2 separate regions of the Homo sapiens genome follow, and region 1 is linked to region 2. Evidence: promoter capture Hi-C in 16 types of primary human blood cells and fetal thymus (Javierre and others, 2016). All regions are on one chromosome and are shown on one strand. The core of a region is centred on a gene start or on the middle of the fragment in contact, and the rest is flanking DNA. Distances in the headings are between cores, read along the strand shown.

The links. The method cuts DNA at HindIII sites, captures the fragments that hold promoters and counts their contacts. A CHiCAGO score of 5 or more calls a contact.
Region 1: a contact is called between the fragment with the promoter of SEMA3F here and a fragment that was not itself captured in region 2, in 1 of 17 cell types (endothelial precursors). The highest score is 5.2, in endothelial precursors.

Annotation. Positions count from the first base shown.
Region 1 is chr3:50,152,127-50,158,438 of GRCh38, reverse strand. It overlaps SEMA3F (semaphorin 3F), which reads right to left and starts at 3,115. Exons shown (of 19, transcript NM_004186.5): 1 at 2,875-3,115. It overlaps LOC124909484 (basic proline-rich protein-like), which reads right to left and starts at 3,769. Exons shown (of 2, transcript XM_047449434.1): 1 at 3,743-3,769; 2 at 2,650-3,378. The coding sequence starts at 3,769. The coding sequence ends at 2,650. SEMA3F-AS1 (SEMA3F antisense RNA 1) reads left to right here and starts at 2,354. Exons shown (of 4, transcript NR_135301.1): 1 at 2,354-2,705. RefSeq lists silencers at 3,131-3,600, 3,631-3,770, 3,781-3,840. The HindIII fragment of the contact is 18,046 bases long and covers 1-6,312 here.
Region 2 is chr3:50,226,597-50,232,607 of GRCh38, reverse strand. It overlaps MIR5787 (microRNA 5787), which reads right to left and starts at 5,172; the gene lies at 5,118-5,172. It also overlaps a transcript of GNAI2 not described here. RefSeq lists enhancers at 1,822-2,051, 5,842-6,011 and a silencer at 4,960-5,329. The HindIII fragment of the contact is 1,146 bases long and covers 1,444-2,589 here.

The sequences.
Region 1 (6,312 bases), core at 1,866-4,365, 75 kb after region 2:
CTGATGACATCCCTAGACCCACCTCCCCCAGCCCTGGCCTCTCCTGCCAAGGCAAACCACTCATGGCTCCTCAGACAGGAAGTGCAGCTTCAGCCTCTTGGCCCACTCCTTACGCGGTACCCTCTGTGTGAATGTTCTCTCCCGAGGGCCTGGCACACCGCTCATGGTCCTTCCAGATCCCCTGTCATAGATGCTGCCTCCTGGGGAGGCTAGCTGGGGGATGGGGGAATCAGAACCAGCCCCTCCTCAGGTCTGGGAGGCACAAAGCTAGTGCTGACTGAATGGCAGGCTCTGAGAAGTGGGGGCAGGTGGGAGAAATGGCTGTGCAGCCACCGTCACCCTCAAGGTGCACCTGGGAGGCCCCTGATAACAGCTGTGGATATGCACACGTTCACACTTGCAGGCCCACACACGTCCTTACAAGCATGAGTTTGCTCAAGAACTTGACCTGCTAGTGGGGTGGGGCTCAGGGGAGCTGGGAGATACTGTCCTGGCGCAAGATGCCGTCTGAGTCCCTCAGAGAGCTTCGATACTATGTAACGGGGGCTCCTGTCAACCTGCCTCCCGCCTCCCCCCTCCCCATGACCTCATTTTTTCCTTCATCCATGTTCATGGTGACAAAGTCAGTGTCACCAAGGACAGGGTTGGAGTCACCCAATGTGTCCAGAGAGGTGGGGAGTCTTTCTACTGGGTCCCTACAGGGACTTCCCATCCAAATGCTTTGGCCTTTTAAAGAGGTGAATGGGGAGGGGCTCAAGTTTGCTGGGGCCTCAGTCTCAAGTCCAGGTCCCCTCTTGGACAGCCTGGCAGGTGGGGGAAAGAAGGAGAGGGAAGGAAGAAAAGGAGAAGAAGGACAGAGAGGGAAAGAAAGGGCAAACCCACAGTGCCTTCCCCTCTGCCAGTCCCGAGATGCCTGTCACCCAGCCCCAGCCCCAGAAAAGCCCCCAAGTCACACCAAGCCCAGGTCAGTGGACAGAGGAAGAACAGCCACCGCCACCTGGGAGCCCACCAGGAAGAAAGCAGAGAAGGAGGGAAGGAAGGCTGGTGGGAGGGAGCAAGGGAGGGAGGCAGGCGGGAGGGAGGAGGAGAGAGGGAGGAGAGAGGGAGGGACGGAGGAGAGACGCTTGAACAAAGAAACGAGGAGCCGGGGCTGGCAAGGGGTGCAGGGAAGAGGCGGCCAGAGGAAGGAGTCCGGAGGCACCTGGGATGGGACAGGGGGCCAGGTGGCCAAACTGTACAGCCGGATCCAGACCGCCCAGGCTTGGAGTTGGGGGTGGGGGTGGACAGCCTGTCTCCAGGAAGGGAGGTTGGCTCCTCCGAGCTGAGGACTGCCTGGATGGAAGGGAGGCAGGAACAGGGGCCGTAGGGGAACATGGGGAGATTATCAACAGCACCCCACCCGCTACCCAGCCCCTCAGATTCCCTCCCCCACTTCAACAAGAGCTCTGTCTCCTTCTTGGCTCCTCAGCTTCCCCATCCCCCAACACCTCAAGGACCAGGAAGCAGAGCCACCCCAGCATAGCTGGGACTGAAACCCCCCTTTTGTGGCCAGGGTTTCCCAGTCAAGGTCACCTGAGCCTGGCTCCATCCTCCCCCCAAGGTATGCTGAGCAGCGAGGGGCTGAGGCTGGGTGGGCTGCCGCCTTCTCTCTGGCCCCTGCTTTCTCTCCGGCCCCCACCTCCCCACTTCCGGGCCTGGCTCCTTCGGAGCTGAAGGGGGAGCAGCAGGAGTAGGCATGCCTGTGCCCCCCGCCTGCCTAGACACTATACCCTACGGGGTCCTGGCACACCCCTTGGGTAGCCTGGGAAGAGGCCTCAGCTCCATCCAACTCCCTGGGCTGAGATGGGGCTCCCAACCCCTGGGTGCAGTTTTCCCTTCTCTGCAACTAGGATAACTACTGGGAGACTATCTGGGTGAATTCAGGAGGACAGAGGTCCCCAACCTGGCCCAGCTTCAGGGTGGACATACTGGTGTCTTTGGTTGGCGTCTCCCTTACCTCTCCCAAGCAGTAATGTTCTGGTGGCAAAACACAGCTATCTCAAAAATTAGGAGTTATTTATCCAGTGGGGCCCCCAGCCCCAGCTCCAGCCAACTCCCGCCAGCACTGCCTCATTCCTAGGCCAACTTTGATACCCTCCTGTCCCATCTGCTGGGGGCAACCCCGCCAAGCCCCCGCTGTCCCCTGCCCACTTCACCACTGGGACCCCTGGTTCAAACTAGGGATTGACCGCAGGCTCTCCAAGCTCACCTACACACTACATACAGCCGTGCCCCTAATCCAGGCAGGACTCTGCTGTAAAAGCAAACCCAAGGTGGCAGCTGGGGGTCAAGGGGCTGGCACAATGCTGGGAGAAATGCCTCAGGACTGGAGGTCCTCCCACTCTGCTGATGTGGGAGACCCCCCACGTGGGGACTGCCAGTATACCGCTTCCCTTCGGGCTGGCCAGTCCTCAAGTAGAGACACTGAGGTAGGGCAAGCGCATCTACGGGGAAGAGCGCTGCCTCGGGCGTTAATGGGAGAGAGAGCTGAGGCAGAAGGGGGATCGGAACTCCCGCTCCAGAAGCGTGAAGGTGGGGGTGTATGAGAGCACCCACCCAGAACCTTGCAGGAAAAAGTTGCTTTGCACATGGGTGACCCCGCAGGCCACATCATCCACACATCCATACGCCGCCCCGTAGGTAAGGGGTCCGGGCCTCCAGGACAGGTAAGAATCCCACCCCAGCCTTGTTGCCCCTATGTCCGCGGGCAGCCCCCCGGCTCGACGAGACCCGCTCCCCGGACACTTCTGCGGAGTTGCAGTGCCGCGGGTCCCAGAGGGGTCGCGGGGTGGCCCGGCCGCCTGCCCGCTCCCTCCCGGTTCCCGCTGCACTCACCTCTTCCGCAGCGGCGGGGCCTGGGCGCCCGGGCGGCGGCGGCGGCACGGAGCGGCTCCCGTTGGGCCGGTCCGCGCTAGCGGCCCCCCGGGGCCATGGCCCTGCCCGCGACCTCTCGCCGCTGCGCCTCAGCCGGGATCGGCGCCGCGGCCGCGGCTTAACCGGTTCCGCGGGCTTCGGGCGCGTCAGCAGCCGAGGGCCCGGGCCCCAGCCCGGGCCATGGGAAGGCTCAGGGGCGCTCGGGGCCGCCTCCCCTGGGGTGGGCTGCGGGCGCCCCCTGGCCGGCGCGCCGAGGGCGCATTCCCCAGCGCGGGGCGCGGGCGGTGGCGCGCACTCGGCTTCGAAGCGCTGCGCTCTCCTGGCTGCTGGACCCGGGCCGGGCGGCCGCGCTGGGCTGCACGGTTCCTCGCGGCGTACCCAGGTCCTGCGCTGCGCTCGGGGCTCTCCGGACCGCCGCGGTTCGTTCGCTCGCTCTGGTCTCGCGGCCGCCGGCGGGACGGGGCGCTCAGAGCCGCGCGGGGAGCGCCGGCAATTGGCCGCCCGTGGGCGACATTTGCATAGCGCAGCCCCGCCCCGCCCGGCCCGCCCAGCCCCACCCCCGGGGCGGGACCCGCCCAGCCACCGCCCCGCCCCCGCTCCACCTGTCCGTGGGCCGGGCTCAGGGTTCCCAGGCGGTGGGCACCCCGCGCCGGGGGAGACTAGTCTGCACCCCTCGCCCCCGCCCCCGCTTCGCGGGCGGCGCCCCCGCCCCGCCCTGGCTTTGTCTCTCTGTGAATACACCGCACACATCGCGCCTGGTGTTTACCCGGGCATTCAACTCCCTGGCGAGAAGGGCTGCAGCGCCAGGGAGCAACGAGCCTGCGCTCACCTGAGCACCCCCTTCCGCGTCCCTCATTCCCACTCGCCGCCGGCCGTGCCCCTGGTCCCGTGCGTGGGCCCCGCGGCGCAGGACCCCTGACTGCCCGGGCTGCTCAGCAGGTGGCGGTGCAGCCCCTGGGACGGCTGGCACCGCCGGACCTTCCCGCGGGCTCAGCCTCCAGCCTAGGCCAGGTCGGGGGCAGCCCAGCCACACAGCTCTCTCCAGCCATTCAACGACTCCCCGTGATCGCCTCAATCGCCAGCCCTTATTTCAGGCCAGCAGCTCCCACAGACTCTCCTTATAGTTCCATACCTTAGAGAGGCCAGATCAGCTAGCACCTTCTCTCCTCAAGGGGACATTTGCTTTCAAATGGCCTGGTGATGAGCCAATGGCTCAGCAACTGAGAAGGGCCTACCGTGACCCCAGGAAGGGACCCTCTGCCCAACCCAACTTTCCAAGGTCATGGCCTCACCACCAGGACCACTTCTCAGCCCTGCCCCGGGCACCCTGCGGAGGCTCCCAGGGGCGTTGGCCCTTTGTCCTCTCCTTCATCCTCTTCCTGTTCTGTCTTCTGTGCCCTCCTCTTTCTCCTCTTTCCTTTCTCCTCTTCTCCCTCTGCCTCTCCTTCCTTCTCCCCTCTCTTCTCCCTCTTCCTCTCTCCTCTTCTCCCTCTTTTCCATCTCCCTCCTTTTCCTCCTTCTCCTCTCTTCTCCTGGATTTTTCCTTCTCTGCCCTCTCCTCCTCTCCCTTCTCTTCCTCCACCCCATGCATTTCCTTCTCTTCTTCCTCCTCCTTCTTCCTGCTCTTTACCCTCTTCCTCCTTTCTCTTTTTCTTCTCACTCCTCCTCTCCGCCTTCTTCCTCCTCCCACTTCTCTCCCTGGCTAGCAAGACCTCCAGGAAAAGACCTCTCTCCCTCTGACCCATTGACTGGTTGACTCCAAGTGCAAGGTGGAGCTGGGCACTAGGGATCCTGCTGAGGGTCTCCTGACTCAGGACTTAGAGTGCTGCCTCATGCTCCAAGCACAGGCAGGGCATTTGAGGTGAGCAAACACCATCCTGGAGTTATGGAGCTGCTGTGACAGCACCTGCACCTCTCCCCTTTGTCACGCCTCATTGAAAACACTGTGACAATCCATCTCTCCTCATCCCCACTCATCTGTATGAGGGTCACCCCTGAGGTCACCACCACTGCACCACCATCACCAATACAGCTTAAGCCACCATCTCTATGGCTTCCAACACCATCCCTTCCATCCTCTCACAGCCTCCATGGTCTCCTTATAGCCTGGCCACTTCTATCACTATCTCCAGCATCATTAGCATCATGCTGGTTACCACGGAAGAGCTGTCAGGACTTGCCAGAGACTCCAGTGTACTGGGTTGGGAAGGAAAGAGGCTCAACTGATCTGTTCATGAAGCTCCACTCAGACACACAGAATAGGCCCAGCACACAGAGGCCTTCAATGGCAGGGAGACCAGGGAAGGGGGCCAGGAAGAGGGCAAAGAGCTAGAATTGAGCCTGGCTACATGGGGTGGAATGCCAATTCCTTCCTAAGCAATTCGAGAGGGCTGAATAATCATACAAAAAAAATTGTTATTGCAGCAGTGAATCCACACTGAGCCCTTGCTCTGTGTCAGTGCTGGGGTGAGCATTTTGTATCATCATAATATGTTGTTATAGTTTGTGTGTGTGTGTGCATATACATATCGGCAGACCTCATTTTATTGTGGTTTATTGCGTTTTGCAGATATTGTGTTTTCTGAAGTTGAAGGTTTGTTGCAACTCTGTGTCGAGCAAGTCTATCAGCACCATTTTTCCAACAGCATGTGCTCACTTCATTAGCATTTTTTAGCAATAAAGTATTTTTTAATTAAGATATGTACATTTTTTAGACATAATGCTATCACACACTTAACAGACTACAGTATAGTGTAAACATGACTTTTATATGCACTGGGAAACCAAAAAAATTTGTGAGTTGCTTTATTACAATGTTAGCTTTATTGTGGTGGTCTGGAACCAAACCCGCCATATCTCCGAGGTATATTATATTATTCAGGGGAATATTGTATAGCTTTTCACAATTTTGTCTTCAATTTCAGAGGTCCACAGACCCCTCAAAACCAGCTCTGGATACCAGGTTGGGAGGCATTGCATGCCAGGAAGTTTTGCGGTTATTCACCCCCAGGTGCTTCACAATTGGGCTGAGAAGCAGGCCCTGTTGTCCCCATTGTACAGTTGAGCATGAGGGAGGAGAGTGGGGAGGTAGGGAGGGTTGGGGGAGGCCTGGAGCCACCAGGCTGTGGTGCCTGGAGAAGGCATTTTCAGTGGCTGTGGGAAAGCTCCAGGACAGGAAGGCCAGGCTGCAGGGCCCACATGGAGCCAAGGGCCTGCAACCCTGATAGGCACGCAGGAGCTGGATGCCTGCTGGAGTCCCACAGGGCACTTCTGGAACTCCACGCATCTTTATCATGTGAATAAGAGAGCAAAAATAAGAGAGCAAATCCCTGCAGCACCAGATCGGAGAGGGAACACAGCCAAGAAGCCAAGACTCAGGGAGTCAACTCCCTGCCCTAC
Region 2 (6,011 bases), core at 767-3,266:
CTCTGCAGCAGTTGGAGGCTGTAGGCTGGCAGTTGGAAGCAAAGACTCTGAGGAGCAGTTTGCAAACTTGCCAGCTACTTGTTACTTTGGACAAGTACCAGAAACTCCCTGTACCTCGGTTTTCTTATCAGTAAAATGGGCCTAACGGTTATACATACCCAAAGCACAGGCAGAGGTCAGGACTCCAGGAGGAAACATGTAAAACATGCAGAATGTGCATGGCACATAGAAAGCCCTCAATAAGGGTGAGGTGTTATAGTAGTGATTTCTTTTTTTTTGAGACTGAGTCTGACTCTATCACCCAAGCTGGAGCGCAGTGGCATGATCTTGGCTCACTGCAACCTCCGCCTCCTGGGTTCAAGTGATTCTTGTGCCTCAGCTCCCCAAGTAGCTGGGATTACAGGCGCCTGCCACCACACCCGGCTAATTTTTGTATTTTTAGTAGAGATGGGGTTTTGCCATGTTGGCCAGGCTGGTCTCAAACTCCTGACCTCAGATGATCTGCCTGCCTCGGCCTCCCAAAGTGCTGGATTGCAGGTGTGAGCCACCGTGCACGGCCCTTTTTTTTTTTTTAATAGAGATGAAGTCTCACCATGTTGTCCAGGCTGGTCTCAAACTCCTGGGCTCAGGCAATCCTCCCGTCTTGGCCTCCCAAAGTGCTGGGATTACAGGCATGAACCACTGTGCCTGGCCCAATAGTAGCGATTTCTGTAAGGCTTTATGATTGTCCCCACTCAAGGGTCCACCTCATGTCCCTCCACTTGCAACACACTGGCACTCCAACCATCTGGCTTGCCTTGCTCTCTCCATCCCTCGATCTTCCCTCCCATCCCCCTACCCTGTTAAATTAATCCCTCCTCCCCACCTTTCATTCCCTGGCTGTGAGCTGGGCTTCTCTGAGTCCCATTGTCCTCGGGCTTCCCCTTCCCCAGCCAGATCCCACTATTCTGGTCGTGGGTCTCTCCCACTCATATCCCTAATTCCAGGCCCCTTGCAGGGTGGCAGGTAAATATGTATCAACTTAAATGAATAAGGCCGGGTGCGGTGGCTCGAGCCTGTAATCCCAGCACTTTGGAAGGCTGAGGTGGGCAGATCATGAGGTCAAGAGATCGACTATCCTGGCCAACATGGTGAAACCCCATCTCTACTAAAAATACAAAAATTAGCTGGGCGTGGCAGCGCATGCCTGTAATCCCGGCTACTTGCGAGGCTGAGGCAGGACAATCGCTTGAACCCAAGAGGCAGAGGTTGCAGTGAGCTGAGATCGCACCATTGCCCTCCAGCCCGGCAACAGAGGTAGACTCTGTCTCAAAATCAATCAATCAATCCATCAATCAATCTCTTCATCCTGGAGCTGGGAGCTGCTGCCCCTCTGGAAATATTCATGTAGTTGTATACGCAGAGAAAAGAGAAACCAATAGTGCCTGGGAAGGTCAGGAAGCTTTCTTTGAGGAGGTGATGCAGGGAGTGCTAGAGGGAGAAGAACAGTGCGGAAGAATATTGCAAGAAGATGGAAGAGTACATGCAAAGGTAGGGTGGTAGGTCTGAGAGGCAGGGGTCTGGGGAAGGGCTAGCGAGAAAATTAAGGCTGAGAGCTGAAGAAACAAACCCCTTGCTTTGCAGCTGAGTCAGCTGAGGTCCAGAGTGGGCCAGGAGCCAGTCACAGTCATCAGTGAGGTACATCGTGGGCATCTCAGTTTCTTCATACTCAGGAATCCAGGAGTCCTTTCAGGAGAGTTCATTTTGGGGGCAGAGGGCAGCTGCCTAGCCAGGGCCTCACGAGCACCAGAGGAGGCATGACTTGACCCCATGCCCACCAGGCCCAGCACCGCTTGGACTAGACCATAAAGGACAATGGAATGACATCAGCAGAGTTGAGGGTGGCCCCTCAGCTGGAATGGAGAAGTGGCAGCTGCTGGTTCACCCCTACTGCCAGAATAGTCTTGGGGCTCACCACAGGCAGCACAGCAGGTCCAGCTTGGCCTGAGTTCCTATCGAGCAGTAGCCCTGAGCAGGTTGAGGAATGAAGACCCTCTCAGTGGGCTGTGACATGCTTGCCTGCAGGCTCTAGGAAGGGGAAGCTGCTAGCACTTCCCCAAAGGCAGTTTCGGGGTGGGTGTGCCTGTCCCTGCCCAGAGTCCAGGACTAGGTAGGACCCCACAGGGATGCCCAGAGTTCAGGATCCTGACCACCCTACCTCCACGGCTCCCAGATGACAGGGAGTCCCTGGCCAAGGACCTGTGACCAACTCAATCACAGCCTTGCAGCTACTGCTTGTAGACCTCGTGGCTACAGCTTGCTCCCGCCTTACTGCCCTGGGGCAGGTTCTACTTCCTGGTTCAACTCCTGCGCTTTCCCCTTCCTGCTTCTTAGCCCAGTGGAAGTTCTGAAACTGGAGTCAGCCATCCTGCCCTCCCTCCCTGCTCCCTTGCAGACCCCTCTTCCCAGGCCTCTCTTCGTCCAGGAGGAAAACTCAAAAGCCTGGGGGTCCTGGATCCCAAAGTCCCCCTTTCTGGTCATCCACCCTCTTCACAGATCATTGGCTTTGACCTGGAGAATTCAGGCCCCAGCACCCCTTCCCCATAAGCTTCTGGATTAGGCAAGGGGGCCCAACCTGACACAGGGGTGGCGGCTGGGGGGCAGTGCGGGAGGATCCAGAGGAAGGGGTCATCTGTTCAACCACTGTTCCCTGAACATATTGCCTGCCAATGTGCTGAGAACCCTATGGTAAAAGAGGCAGCTGGGCCCTGTCCTTGAGGAACACACACCAAACAAACAGGGAAATGAACTTCACCATTTCAGAGGAAATCAACAGGGTGACACTAGAGCCACTGGGAGGTATGTGCAGGAGAAGATAGTCTGAGGAGGGGATCTTTGAATCATGTGGAAGGACCAGTCTTGTAACAAGCCAGAAGAGAGTGACGACAGAGGCAGCAGCAAGTGCAAGGGCCCTGGGTTGGGAAGGAGCTGGATGCTCCCAAACCAGAGAGGAGTCCAGCCGGGCCAGAATAGCGAGAGCAAGAGAAGACTGGTGTGAGAGGGGACTGCCATGAGGCATCATGGAGGAACAAGCCACACAGGGGGTTCCAAAGTCTCCAGGGGATGCTGAGGTAGGGGCACCAACATCTCCAAGCCAGTGATCCACACCTAGCCCTACAAACCCAACTGGTTCTGGCATTCAGGGTGTTCCTGTATGACTGGGGAGGAGCTACCCAAGCCCTGCAGGGAACTCAGGAGCTCTCAGGGCTTTGGGGCCAAGGCCTAAACTTAACCTCCCTCCTTTTCTTTGTCCTTGAAGAGTTCATGGTACAACCTGCCACTGTGCCTGTTGCATAGGCAGTCTCCAAAGGCCACCTCCCCTGGGAAGCCCAGGGTCCTTGGGGGGCCTGGGAAATGATAATCAATTCTATTCCCAGGAGCTACTGCTTTGTTCATGTTATTGCCTAGTCCTCCTTGCCATGCTTTCCAAAGGCTGGGGCTGGTAGCCTCTCCCGTGACTCGTTAGGGCTGTCATTAGCACTGCTTCCTGGAATTTAATTTAATGAAGGAGCAAAAACAGCCCTAATGAAGGTGATGCAACAGCAAACAGCCAAGCAAGGTGCACCTTGCCAGCTGGGCTCAGGGGCTTCCTGTAGATTGTGACTAGGAGCAAGGGAGTAATAGGGGAGGAGGGACCTGTTGCGGGAGGGAAGCTGGTCACTGAGTTCTGGACGCACAAGCATCGCTCTGCCTGTACCGTATGGAGCAAATACTGCGATCAAGGCCAAGCAGACAGAGTTAGGGAAGTGGGCCTTGTCAGGAGTGACTTCAGGCTGTTGGAGAAAAAGCTTTTGAAAAGCTATCAGCCAGTGCAAAGGCCCTAATGTGAGGGCCAGCATGGCATGCCATGCCAACAGGACAGGCTGTGGGCTAGTACCAGGGGGCAGGGGTCAGCAGGGGCCAGATCATCCCGGCCATGGGGCAAGAAAGTTTAAATTGCATTCCAAGTATGAAGGAAACAACTGGAGGGTGTTGAAGGCAGAATGACATCATCTGAATTTTTTTTTTTTTTTTTTTTGGAGACGGAGTCTTGCTCTGTCACCCAGGCTTGAGTGCAGTGGCGCGATCTTGGCTCACTGCAGCCTGTCTCCCAGGCTCAAGCGATTCCCCTGCCTCAGCCTCTGAGTAGCTGGGATTACAAGGCGCGCCCCCACGCCCAGCTAATTTTTTTGTATTTTTGGTAGAGACGGGGTTTTGCCATGTTGGCCAGGCTGGTCTCAAACTCCTGGCCTCAGGTGATCCGCCCACCTCGGCCTCCCAGAGTGCTAGGATTACAGGCGTGAGCTACCGTGCACCGTGCCCGGCCAACATGATCTGATTTTTAAAGTTCCTTCTGGTTGCTATGAGTAGTAGAACCTGAGGATAAGAGAGATGGGAGGATAGGAGGTGGGCACCATTCGAGGGAAATGGAGTGAAGCCTGTGGAGACAGGGCTGTCCCGTCTCCGGGGAGAAGAGAGCTGGTGAGGGGGCGGGGAGCAATTATAACGGGAGTGAGTTTTTGTTTCCTCCAGCAGGTTTGGGCGGGCTGGTCCCCATTCAGCCTTCCCTCCAAATGGGCGTGGCTCAGACACCTAAAGATCGGTCTAAAGGGGCTCCCAATGTCCCCGTATCTGCTTTCCCGCCTTTGTGCACCTCTCTACCTCTAGGAAGCCTTCCTTGCCCTGTCCTGGGTCTTGGCCAGCGGTGGGCTCCCCAGGGACCTCACCAGGACGGCATTTTGCGAGGTAAAAAGCCAGGAGGCTCAGCAGTGGACCGAGAGCTGCGCAGGGTGCAACCTTGCAGGGTGCTACCTGCCCTTGGCCCTGCCCACCGCAGCCCCTCCCTAATTCTTATTTTCCCCCTTGTCCACTCCCAGTGCAACCTCCTAGTTCTTCACCTCCCCCAGGTTCTCTCACCCACGCCCCGCCCAAGGCGTCCTCCCCCGATTCTGGCCTCTCCTGCAGAGCCGAAGCCGGAAGCGGCCTCGGGGTGCGCTGCACCGCCTCTTCCGGGGCCTCTCTAGGCCGGAGCGCGGGATTTCGGTGGCCGGGAGAGGCCGGAACGGCTTCGCGGGGCAGCGGCGCCTCCTGGCGGGCCTGGGGTGCGGCGCGGGAGCCGAGGCCGACCTAGCACCTCCCCGCGCCCCAGCCCCCGCCTCGCGGCCCCCACTCACGGTGGCCCCCGCCTTGCCTGCTCTCCTGTCTCGCTCTGCCTCCGGGCCTGGCCCCCGCCTCCGCCGACCTGCCACTCCTTGGCCGTCGAGGCCCGGTCTCCGCAGAGCTGCAGCCGTCACGCGTCCTCTTGCAACTAGCCCTCTGTGGCACCCCATCCCCCTTGCCCCGCGCGGGGCCCCACCTCGCCAGGGTCTCCTCCGCGATAGCCGCCATCGGCTTACCCTCAGAACGTCCCCAGTGACACCCGCCTTTCTGCTTCGTCCAGCCTAGCGTCTTCACACCCTCCGTCATGAGACGCTCCCTCCTTCTCGCGCTTCCACTTCACAGCAGAGATTAGACGGTGATGTGGGTGATTCTCCCGCTGGGCACCTCGCCTGCTTCCTGAGGGCGGAGTAGCTCCGCATCGCCCATGCCAGCCTAGGGCCGCTGCGCCGTGGGGGCTCGGATGACTTGCTGAGTTTGATTTCAGAGTCATCGGGAGGATAGAGAGGAACTGGGTAAAATTTGCTCTCAGAGGCTCACGCCTGTCATCCCAGCACTCTGGGAGGCCAAGGCGGGCGGATCACGAGGTCAGGAGATCGAGACCATCCTGGCTAACACGGTGAAACCCCGTCTCTATTAAAAATACAAAAAATTAGCCGGGCGCGGTAGCGGGCGCCTGTAGTCCCAGCTACTCGGGAGGCTGAGGCAGGAGAATGGCGTGAACCCGGGAGGCGGAGCTTGCAGTGAGCCGAGATCGCGCCACTGCACTCCGGCCTGGGCGAAAGAGTGAGACTCAGTCTCAAAAAAAAAAAAAAAAATTTCTCTCAGAACACATA